Regions from separate parts of the Homo sapiens genome. Here all the other regions are linked to region 1. Evidence: promoter capture Hi-C in 16 types of primary human blood cells and fetal thymus (Javierre and others, 2016). All regions are on one chromosome and are shown on one strand. Each heading gives the region's core, a stretch centred on a gene start or on the middle of the fragment in contact. The rest is flanking DNA. Distances are from core to core; before and after follow the strand shown.

Region 1 (3,971 bases), core at 86-2,585:
ATGCCCCAGTTCGATTGAACAGATAAAATATTGCATGAAGTTTGAGGATCTTTGCATCCAGTTCCCAGAATGATTATTTTAAATACGAAGAGATCGATCACAGGAAAAATAAAGGCTTCTGGATTCTTTGACCACATCAGGTCCCACAGGAACCATGGCCACATGAACTATGCACTTGGTGAGTACATAACATGACACTAGCCCATATTTCAGGACCTTTACTCTCACCTTGTATCCTATTTCATTGAAGTTATTTTTCTAATCATTAACTGTAGCAACAGAGAGAAAACATTCAATGTGGCAAAGAGAGAAGCTATGTCCCTTTGAGTCCATGCCTTCTCCACAAGAATCTCCTTGAAGTTTTTCATCAGCTGTGGCTCAAGGTGTCCCACACCTTGAGGAACGACGACTCTTCAGCACAGCTCTCAGCCTGCAGTTGCTGAAGAGCAGAATGATGGGGTGAACTGCTGCACACAGATAAATCACTGACTCCCACACCCAGAATTTAAAGTCCAGAGGTGGAAAAATACCTGCAGCACTGAACACCAGTGACAGGAAATATGAGATGAAGAGCATGGCAAAAGAGAGGAGAGCCAGCAGAGCCTTTATGTGTGCCTGCACACTGGGCTCTCGGAATCCTGAGGTTGTAAGGAGAGCCTTCTTCCTGTGTCTTCCCAGAGATGTGATGAGCAAAATCATGCAAATGAAAAAGACAGCAGTGGGCATTGTCCAAGTAATCATTTTTAGAGGGAAGAGATAGAATTTCTCACAGTAGCTCCGTATGCTATCGCCAGTGACATTCCAAGGTTGTAGATGGTTCCTTAAATAGTTCTGATACATTCTGTGGTTGCCTATGAAAAATAGAATGGTGGTGAAGCTGGAGAGCCCTACAGAGCTGAAGAGCATCCATGGTAGCCACCCAGACAACTTGTGCTTTAGCCAGAAGAAGACAGGGTGGGTGAAGGTAGCAATTTTCACACAATAGAAGACACTGAGCCAGGTAGAGGACCATAAGGTGGCAGCATTCAGGAAGTCCCACTGGAAAGCTAGAAACTGCAGTACAGGGTTGTATGGGAAGGCCATCGGATGCAAGAAAACATAAATGGTCTTACCCATTACCACTGACTGCAGACAGAAGCGAGAGGCCCCTAGGCTAACCAATAACTTATCACAAGGCAACAACATTCTCCGTAGCACCCACTCCACGCCCAGAGCAGCAGTGATGAAGCCATTGCCTGCTATTGCTACCAGGCGTAAAAGGAGTAAAATGGTAACCAAGATGATGGCCTTCTTGTCAGTCACCGAAGATCCTAGAACCATGTGGTCTCCATTCATCTCTCTGGTGGACAAGATGGGTCCCAAAACTTCAAGGGCTATCTCTGTTGGGTTGCTCTGGAAGGTCCTGTAGGATATGTTTGTCCCTCCAGCTGCCCCAAGCGCAGAAGCTAGGCCAGAGTAGAGGACGCAGGCTATCAGAGGAGGGTGAGAGGTTTTTTCTTCTCAGAGTAGATGCAAATATTGTCAAGGCTCAATTTTCAAAGTCCCCATACCTGCCCAAAAATTTGCCTGCTCTTCTGCCTATTCTCTGCCCATGTCAACATCAAAGTGGATAATATATCAGGCCCTGGCATTTAGTGTCCTTACACAGGAGGTTATACTTCTCTAAGCGGACACCTATGACAGGACCATGCACCTGCCAGCTCAGTAGTATCATCCGTGGGGCACACCCGCTACTGAGACAGCGCTCACATCCACGGGGGGGGGGTGATTGTTATGTTGCAGGCATTGTTCTGAGTGCTCTCCTTAGTTCTCACAACAACTCTATGCGGGGAGTAGTATGGCAAGACCCCTTTAACTGAGACAGAGAGAAAACTGAGCAAACCTTTACAGAGAAGGATTAATTCAAGTCTTATTACTCACAGTGACCATCATCATAAAAAAAGAACACTGGAGACAATTATACATAATGAGGCAGGCAACTTTTTTCAAAATTTAAAAATATATATTTGATAACTGGTGGCCTCTAAAATAGCACTTCACAGAGGAACCCCCAGTAGCGATAAGCCAATGGGATATGGCAGAATGAGCCCTGTGCTAGGAGTCGAGACAGCCTTTAGTCCAAACTTTACCCCTTACTGTGAGTTGCTGGATATGTCAGCCCCTCTGCGCCTCATTTTGTCCATCTGTAAAATATGAAAAGTATCCTATGTTCTAATTCACAAAGATGTCTTAGAATCTCGGCTTAGAATGAAAGAAGACATGAAAGATAATCTTACAGATAAAAGAAATAAGACCCCAAATTATATATTACAACTCCCACCTAAAGTCACAGTTACACAGAGGAAAGACCAAGATCCAAACTGATTCCAGGACCAGGAATCTCTGCCATGGTTAGCAATACATGTTACACCTCCATCTTCTTCATCCCTAGCTGAACTCAGAAGCCCAAGTTTTGAGTCTTGTCACAATCACTACGGATCCTCAAGCAGTTAACCTCTCTGAACACCCCCCTTTCTTCACCTATAAAAAATATGGGTCACAAATAAATATGACCATAAATATGGTAAATATATTGGAAATTATAAACCTCTGCATATGGACAAGGAGCAATGATGATGATGACAATTACTTTATTAGAATGGCTATCTTCTATTCCATCCATCCTGTGGCATAATAAGTAGCATAAGGAGAATTCAGGAGAGCATCAGGGATGCAACAGAAGTTCAGGGCACCAAATGTCAGACCACTGATATCAACCAGAGAAGGACAGAGTAAAAAAAAGACCACATTCTTTATAGAAATCAGCTTCAAAGAGTCAAAAAAATCAGCAATCAACACCCAGGTGAGTGTAAGTAGGTTAACGTGTCACAGGGAGATAGGAAAGCAGGAATTGTTCTGGGTCAAATACAGCAATATTGAAGGCTCAGGATCAAGTAACATGACAGTAAGGGGATTTGTAATGAATACACATCTGCTGACACCACAACCTACCAGTTCCATATATAGGACCCCCACAAAAAGGGAATAGAACGCATGTCAGCATCTCTTCCCAGTTCCCAGTCTACTTCCCAGTAGTCCACTTCCAGGTGGAATTGTTTCTTTAACACATACGCCAACCATAGTGGACATAGGTCTTCGGAGTAAAGGAAATAAGATGAACTAAGGTAATTCACTCTGCCTTTCTGTGAAGATGCAAATTTCCAGGAGATAGAGTTCCCAACTGCTCTCTTCCTTGCCCTTGTTCTTCTGGCTGACATTTGGCTGTTTTCTACTGGAACTTGGAGAAATGGGGCAAACTTCGGGCTTATAGCTCTGGAGTATGGCCACCTACAAACCGCCCAATATGGAAAACTTGAATCTTTTTCATCCACCTCCCACACCTTCAATGATAAAGATGTGCATTTAACCTTCAATTCATTTAATAATAATTTATTAAGCATATCCTATATGCCATGATAACCCTTTGAAAGACATTGGGCTACAACAGTGAATTAGATATCTGCCTTCAAAGCACTTTTATGGGCTAAACATAAACCACAAACATTTACTGGACATATACTATGTGCAGAGTAAGTTAATCCAAAAGAGGGAATAATCATTTGAATTTAAATATGCAATGTGTTTCGTGGTGATTCTTTTGTTGTTTGTTGTTTGTTTGTTTGTTTGTTGCATTTGGCTTTCTCATGTCTAGATTTATCTTCTTAGGTAAAAGTCAAGTCTGAGAGTTTTTAACTTTTCATAACCAGTCTTTATAAATGTAATCATGAGGGTAGTAGGATAGGGATCCTGAGTTAGCTCTCTATATGGAAAACCTTCAACTCAGTACTCTCAACAAGTGACTCCCAGTCTGTGGCTCTATGTGTTAGGGATCTTGCTATTCCCATCCCAAGATCTCTCAGAAGAGTTGAGAAGTAACAGCCCCATAATTGTGAGACAATAAAGATGCTGTCTTGCATGTTGGAAGGAAAAAG
Region 2 (3,623 bases), core at 503-3,002, 560 kb after region 1:
ACTACACACCATACACACAACACACATGCAACAATCTTTCCACAATACGTATATACACAACACACATGTCACACATACCATCACAGACACCACATCCACACGCTCTACAGGCCATACCTACACATATCACATATATCATACACACGTAGACACATACCAAACACACCACAGGCACATCATATACATACAGCATACCACACACAAAACACCCCACCGATGCACATCATGAACACACGCATAAACACCACACACAAATGCACATGGGCACACACGCCATACACACGCCACACACACACTCCCCTGGCTGGGTCTTCCAACTCTGAGTCAGAGAAAGTTAGGACAAAACAGACTCTGAAGCTAGGAAGTGATCCACACACCTGTGACTCTGAACACCCAGACACCTGCCCCTAGGCTATTGGCACCTGGCTGGCACCAGGAGGTTGGATAAGCCCGGGCTTCTGCCCCTTTCCAGTGGAAAAGTTGAACTAAATGACCTTTCCGACAGCTTCCAGCAAGCTCATGATGGAGCTCTTTGTTGTGGGAAGACGATGGGCCATGCTTAATGCCATCATTCTTCTGTATGACTGTGCGAGTCACTTAACCTCTCTGAAGCTCTGTTGGCCAGTTAGAATGAGGAGGTGTGCTAGGGAGAAAGAAGTGGGCTTGGAATGAGGGATGGGTGTGAATCTTGCCTCTGCCACCTCTATGGCCTTGGGAGAGTTCCTTTACCATGGTGAGCTTTGGTTTCTCCCATCAATACAATGTAGATAATAATACCTGCCTTGCAGGTTTGTTACGAGTTTACCTGGGAACGCTCAGTTAAAAGGCCCAGCACACAGTAGCAGCTGAATGTCACCTCCACGGGAAGGCTGGCAGATAGAATACTTGCAAAACGTGGGGTATATTTATACTAAAAAATTCTTTGTTGTTTATCTAAAATTCAAATTTGACCACGTGTCCTGTATTTTATCGGGCACCCACCCCATGCACGGGGCATTGTGGACAGTCTGTGGAGCTCCTGAGCAGGGGGTCTGCCCAGAGCTAGATTTTGTGCCCTGGCTGGTGAGCGAAGAATGCATTTTACATCTTTGGGGGTGGTTAGAAAACAACCACCAAAACAAAACCAAAGAATAACGTACATTAGAGAGTGTACATGGCTTGCAAAACCTAACATCTTTACATTTCCTATCAGCCCTTCCAGAAAAAGTTTGCTGACCCAAAGGTGATGGGGACTGAGAGGAAAGTCTGGGAGAACTGAGTATCTTCGCAATTTATATACCTATTTCAGGCCTGGCAAGAATGAAACTGGAAGAGTCCAGAAAATGGAATTCTCCAGGACATAAGCAGGGGGAGGCAGAGAGTGAGGCAGGTGGTCGGCAGAAGAGGCACTGTGGGAAAGTGGGGCGCTCCCTCCTGGGAGTCCTCAACATTGGGAATGGGCCTGCCCTGACTCCTCCCCTCCTTTCTCACTGCCTAGAGTCTCTCAGGGTAGGTCACTGGGTGTTCTGACGTCCAAGGGAGGCCTCGCCAGTCTTTCTGAAGGCCTCCCTGGTTGTGACTGGCCTGGGGGCAGGGAGAGAGCCCTGGGTGGAGAAAGAATTGGAGTTGGCACAAGTCCCCCTTGGTAGGCAGGTCTGTGGCTGGCCTGTGTCTTTAAATCTCAGGTAATTTGGGAGGAGGGAGGGCGTGTCCGTGCAGCTTTGGCTCCTCCTGCTCACTCCCAGCAGGAGCTCCAGACAGGCCAGCCCTGCAGAGTCCTGGCTGGCTCTGCCAAGTGTAACAAACTCACAGCCCTCTCCAAACTGGCTGGGGCTGCTGGGAGACTCCCAAGGAACTCGTCAGGAAGGCAGGAGACAGGAGACGGGACCTCTACAGGGAGACGGTGGGCCGGCCCTTGGGGGGGCTGATGTGGCCCCAAGGCTGAGTCCCGTCAGGGTCTGGCCTCGGCCTCAGGCCCCCAAGGAGCCGGCCCTACACCCCATGGGTTTGTCACTGCCCAAGGAGAAAGGGCTAATTCTCTGCCTATGGAGCAAGTTCTGCAGATGGTTCCAGAGACGGGAGTCCTGGGCCCAGAGCCGAGATGAGCAGAACCTGCTGCAGCAGAAGAGGTAAGGCCCCCTTGGTCTGCTCCCTTCCCCACCTCCCCAGGCCTGCACCTCTACCCCTCACCCCTCCCTCACCTCCCGTCTTTGTTTGGCACCTTTGGCTGGACAGATGGTGCTCCCAGGCCCGGACTGGCTCCTTGGGAGCATTCTGTCTTAAGAGCCTCAGCCTGTAGGGCTGGTGAAAGAGGATGGGGTTGAGATGGGCACAGGTGTTCACTATCTTAAGATCTAATTCGATTCTGCAAGCCTCTTGTGAGTACTTCTCTAAGGGCCAGGCGTCTTGCTGGGGCTTGTAAGGATAGAGCATCACAGCCCCTCCACCCAAGAGGGGACGGCAGGTGAGGACAATGCCTTCTGTATCTCCACTGCTTGCCTCTAGAACAGTCTCTCTGGCAGGAACACATAGTATACATATGTTCGCATGGAGGAATGAGTGAACGATTGAATGAATGAAGCAGAGAGAACCGCGGACACCAGGAACCAGAAAATAAGACAAAATGTGAAAAAAGTGACCATTCCTATGTATCTGTCTCATCAGACACTGACCAAGGCCTTACTATTTGCCCAGCACTGGGGGGATATGAAGACCTACAACGCTCAAACCCAACCTTGAGGTGTATTTCTCTCTCAGTGCGGGTGGGGACTGAGGGGAAGCGGGTCAAAATAACAGATGTTCCGAGGACCTGTGCTCTTCCGCATTCAGGTGGTGGAAATCGAGACTCTAGCGTTTAAGCCCTAAGGACATTCACTGGTGGCTTCCAGCCCCTGAAAACTTCCTAAACCCGTGTCCTGCTTTCTTCACCATGACAGCTTGGAGTACAGAGCAGGAGAGGAGCAGGGAATCGGAACTCAGGGCTATCCCTGCATGTGGTCTCTTCTTCAAGGTCTCTAATAGAGTTCTCTACCCAGTTGGTGGCATGCTAGAAGGAAGTCCTGCCTGTTGGGGCTTTCCCTGGGTCACGAAGGAGGCAGATGTCTGGTCATAGAGGAAAGCCTGAAGTCTTTGTGCCTTAGGGTTTTTCTCTGACCCCAAGAGTAGGAGCCTGCTTTAGCCTGACCGGGGAGGCTGCCTGGAGGCCCCTGTGTTTTCTTTTGCTGAAGGATTCTGGGTTGGGGATGGTCTCTTTCTGTGAATTATGGCTTCCCATCTCTCCAGCCGCCCACCTCTCCCCCAAGGCCTGGGAGAGTGGGGACTGGAGCACATGTTTGGCTGATGACATCTTGGGGCAACAGAATGGCATTGTTGTTAGAGAGTAGGTCGTCCTCACTGGCTTCACTCATCCTCTTCCCACTCTTAGGACCCCAGGGCCAGGGGATCCAGGCACAGAGTGCAAAAAGGCCTGGGGGATTGGAAGGGGTGGTGGAGATTCCCTGTGTGCGATATCAGGGGAGAGCAGAGGGGAGGCCCTGCGCTGAGTGGCTGAGAATAGGCTGCTTCCGCATGTCCTGTCTGCCCTCACTTTTCCTCAGATCATATGGGGGCTGCCTCTGCAGACTTTGGCTAGAAAGGCTTGATGT
Region 3 (3,928 bases), core at 797-3,296, 670 kb before region 1:
TAGCCAATGAACATGAAATTATGTCCTTTGCAGCAATATGTATGCAAATGGAAGCCATTATCCTAAGCAAATTAATACTGGAACAGAAAACCAAATACCACATGTTCTCATTTATAACTGGGAGCTAAACTTTGAGTACATATGGACATAAAGATGGGAAAAGTAGACACTGGGGACTACTAGAGAGTGTAAGGAGGAAGGGGGTGTGGACCGAAAAAAAACCTATTGGGTACTATGCCTAGTACCTGGGGGAGGGATCATCTGTACCACAGACCTCATCATCACACAATACACCCATGTAACAAACCTGCACATGTACAACCTGAATCTAAAATAAATGTAGAAATTATTTTTAAAATGTACACAAGAGAAATGTACACAAAGCATAAATGTATAGTGCAAGGGATTATCAGTAAATGGCCATTACCCAGCTGCCTTCCTACCCCTCCCAGTCACTATCTACTCCCTTCATCCTAATGATGTCTAATATCCTAGCTTTAACGTTATAGTTTAGTTATTGCCTATGTTTGAAATTTATGTACGCGTGGAATCATACATCCTTTTGTGTCTGGCTTCTATCACTCCAGATTTTGTATCACTCCAGATCTGTATCACTCCAGATTTTGTGTTTGTAATATTCATCCATGTTACTGTATGTTGAGGTTCATTCATTTTCTTTGTTACTTAGTATTCTGCTGTGTGAATATACAAGTTACTCAACTTCTCCCTGTTGATAGATATTTGGATTCTTTTCAGGTTTTAGCTATTATGAAACAATGCTGTTATCTCCTTTAACATCAGAGTTTCATTTTGCCTATTTCAGGAAATTATATAAAATGGCACTGTGACATAAAAAGTAAATAAATAAAAATAAAAGCAAAAAGATGTTCTAACACTTTTAAAGGAAAGGCTAAATATTCTGATAATTTTGCTCTCCTATCTACTGAGATGATTCCTCGATTTTAGAGAACATACATTCCATTGAATATTGCCCTATTTTCAAAGCTTGAATTCAATCACTCACCATTTTTATATTAAACTTCTTCTACAAAATATATTCAAAATTCTTGCTTCAGCAAACCACATGTTTTAAAGGCAAAGCCCATACACCGTTCTCATGGACCTCTTCCTCTGGAGTGCTCTGTGGAGGGCGCCCTTCAACTGAGCATTCCTCAGGCTGTAGATCAGGGGGTTCAGCATTGGATTAAAGACACTGTGAAACAGGGACAGCATTTTCTCCTGCTCCTCTCGTTGATTAGAGTCTGGGACCATGTAAACCACCATGGCTATGCCAAAGAATAGTCCAACCACACACAGGTGGGAGGAGCAGGTGGAGAAGGCCTTTATGCGGCCCTCCTTTGTCTGGATCTTCAGGATGGCCCCGAGGATGTGCATGTAGGAGACCAGAATCAAGGAAAGAGGCCCGACTAAGACAAACACACAGGTAGCAAATATGACCACTTGGTTAACCCAGGTGTCAGCACAGGCCAGCTTGAGGACAGACAGAATTTCACAGAAGAGGTGGTTCACATCCCGGGGCCCACAGAAGGGCAACCTTAGAAGGAGAATTTCATGTACCAGGGACAGGGCAAACCCACATGACCAGGACGTGAGAACCAGGATCGTGCACACTCTCCAGCTCATGATGACAGTGTACTGGAAAGGGTGGCAGATGGCCACATACCTATCATAGGACATCACCACCAAAATCAGGCACTCTGTAACAGCAAAAGCCAAATACAAAAAAGTCTGCATTATGCATGGAACAAAGGAGATGGTTCTTTTCTGGTTCATTAGGTTTGCCAACATCTTGGGAACATTGTTGGAAGCATAGGACATGTCAATGATGGCCAGGTGTGAGAGGAAGAAGTACATGGGTGTGTGAAGCTTAGAGTCCAGGCAGATAATCCCAAAGATGACCCCATTCCCCAGCAGGGTGAGTGTATAGAAGACAGAGAAGAGTCCACAGAGGAGAATCGCCAGTGCTGGACCAACCTGGAATCCCAGCAGGGTGATGTCTGTGATCCATGTCTGGTTGCCTTCCATGCTCTTGTGGCAGAGAAAGACAAACCCTCATCTAGGACAGGAAGGTCAGAGCTGTGGGTCAAAGATGCACAATATTTGCTGAGTGTTTCAGAGGGAGCATTAAGAAATGTATTATTTTGAATGGATTCTTTGTTGAATTTGTTTTCAAATATGTTACTGGAACCAACTCAATTATGCTCATGAAATTAAAAAAATCCTCTTCTACCAACAGAGTAATCGGAAAAAAAGTATAGCTATAATACTTCTTATATAAAAAAAAAATTAACATAAGGTGTAATATAATATATCTTGTATTACTGTATACACATACATGCATGGAAACACGTGTCATTTAGGAGAATTCAGGTACTCTGCTTCTTTTATAGGGTGGAATCCTTAGTTATTAACATAGTGAAATTAGAGATGACACTGACAAAATGCTGCAATACAAGATGGTTTTATATCCTGGGCATGCTTGAGTTTTTCTACCCAGTATGAAGTGGTTAGGGCATTCTGTTCTTCATATTCTTGCTTAGCAACCCATTTACCTTCTCACATGAATTCTACTTTCATATTTAAGATTGAAAATCTTTTGTAAATAGCTTTTCAACTTTGTAATTTCTTTAAAACTTCCTACAACCGTCATTTTTTCAGCCACTGGCCCATACTCCCTGGAAGCACCTCTGGTACCTATTTTCCATCTCTAGGGTTTGTAGTTCTATTTCAAGTATTTTATTTAATTCTTCATCAGCACTTGATGCTAAAATTTAGTCACACGTGAAAGAATTAAAATGGAAGAAAATGTAGGAAAATAGTTTCAAGTCTGTAAATCAAAATAGTAAATATATAATATACAAAAAATAAAAAGGCAATATACAAATATATAATAATATATAAAAGCAGTACAATATCCTTTTTATTATAATTTATTGAATCATTTTTCTTGTCAGAAATTTTTGGTTTCTATTTCTCTTATGTTTGGTAGCATTGAGATAAATATTCTTACAAGCTTATGTTTGGCTTATATTGATGATTTTTAATTGAGAATGTATTCTAAAAGTGAATTTGCAGGTGCTAAATATATTGAAATTTCAAAGCTTTTGATATCTATTTCCAGCTTTGCTTCAGAAAATTTACCAATACAAATTCTACTAATTTTTATCTATATAAATTCTATTATTTTATACCAATATAATATATCACTGATGTGTACCTCAGAATCATGCCTCTTTCCCACATGGTCATCACAACCATGTATTTTTATTTTCAACCTTTGCTAATTCGATAAGAGAACAATATTATCCAGTGTCAATTTGTACTTCATCCATCCTTTAACAAACGATCCTGGAGTGCATGATCTGTTTTAGCCACTGTTCTAAGCGCAGGAGGCACAGTGGTGGAGGTAGATGCATTCAGAAGGGGACCAGGTCATGAAGAAGTGAAGTTAAGGCAGTGTTCTCTTCAACTCCTCACATTCCCATTTAGAGGAGGAAATTGTTATGCCCCTGGATGAAATTGTCTTGGAATATACCTGCTTTTCTCTGTCCCCTAATTTATATGATTGTGAACCAGAAAGAGAAACTAAGGATACCCCTTCTCTGTTTCACCCACACGAATTTCCACCCCCTTTAGCATAAGGCATCAGGAACATGTTTCTTCCCATTTGGAGGTCGGGAGAGGTGTCAGCTAATGGTTATGATTTTAATTTGGAGAGAAATTTTTTTGAAGATATGAACCATGCTTTTCAATAAGCCTTACTAGCAAAATATATAAAATATATATATTTTAAAATTATATCTGATTCTTGTGTGCATTTCTTAACTGATTTTTTTCTGGAGCAGAGAGAGGGAATGGTTAGTTACTACCACTAAAACACCAGGAGTAAATGAGTAAATAATTGCTG

The links. Contacts are between HindIII fragments. The CHiCAGO score rates a contact against its expected background, and 5 or more counts as called.
Region 2: the fragment with the promoter of TRPV6 here is called in contact with the fragment with the promoter of TAS2R60 in region 1 in 10 of 17 cell types (neutrophils, total CD4 T cells, monocytes and 7 more); the score reaches 12.7 in neutrophils.
Region 3: a contact is called between the fragment with the promoter of OR2A2 here and the fragment with the promoter of TAS2R60 in region 1, in 10 of 17 cell types (naive B cells, activated CD4 T cells, total CD4 T cells and 7 more). The highest score is 18.9, in naive B cells.

The regions. Positions count from the first base shown.
Region 1 is chr7:143,440,817-143,444,787 of GRCh38, reverse strand. It overlaps TAS2R60 (taste 2 receptor member 60), which reads right to left and starts at 1,335. Exons shown (of 1, transcript NM_177437.1): 1 at 379-1,335. The coding sequence starts at 1,335. The coding sequence ends at 379. The region is part of intron 2 of EPHA1-AS1 (EPHA1 antisense RNA 1); the gene reads right to left. The HindIII fragment of the contact is 8,585 bases long and covers 1-3,971 here.
Region 2 is chr7:142,883,874-142,887,496 of GRCh38, reverse strand. It overlaps TRPV6 (transient receptor potential cation channel subfamily V member 6), which reads left to right and starts at 1,752. Exons shown (of 15, transcript NM_018646.6): 1 at 1,752-2,108. The coding sequence starts at 1,861. The HindIII fragment of the contact is 18,692 bases long and covers 1-3,623 here.
Region 3 is chr7:144,107,701-144,111,628 of GRCh38, reverse strand. OR2A2 (olfactory receptor family 2 subfamily A member 2) reads right to left here and starts at 2,046. Exons shown (of 1, transcript NM_001005480.2): 1 at 1,090-2,046. The coding sequence starts at 2,046. The coding sequence ends at 1,090. The HindIII fragment of the contact is 1,147 bases long and covers 1,890-3,036 here.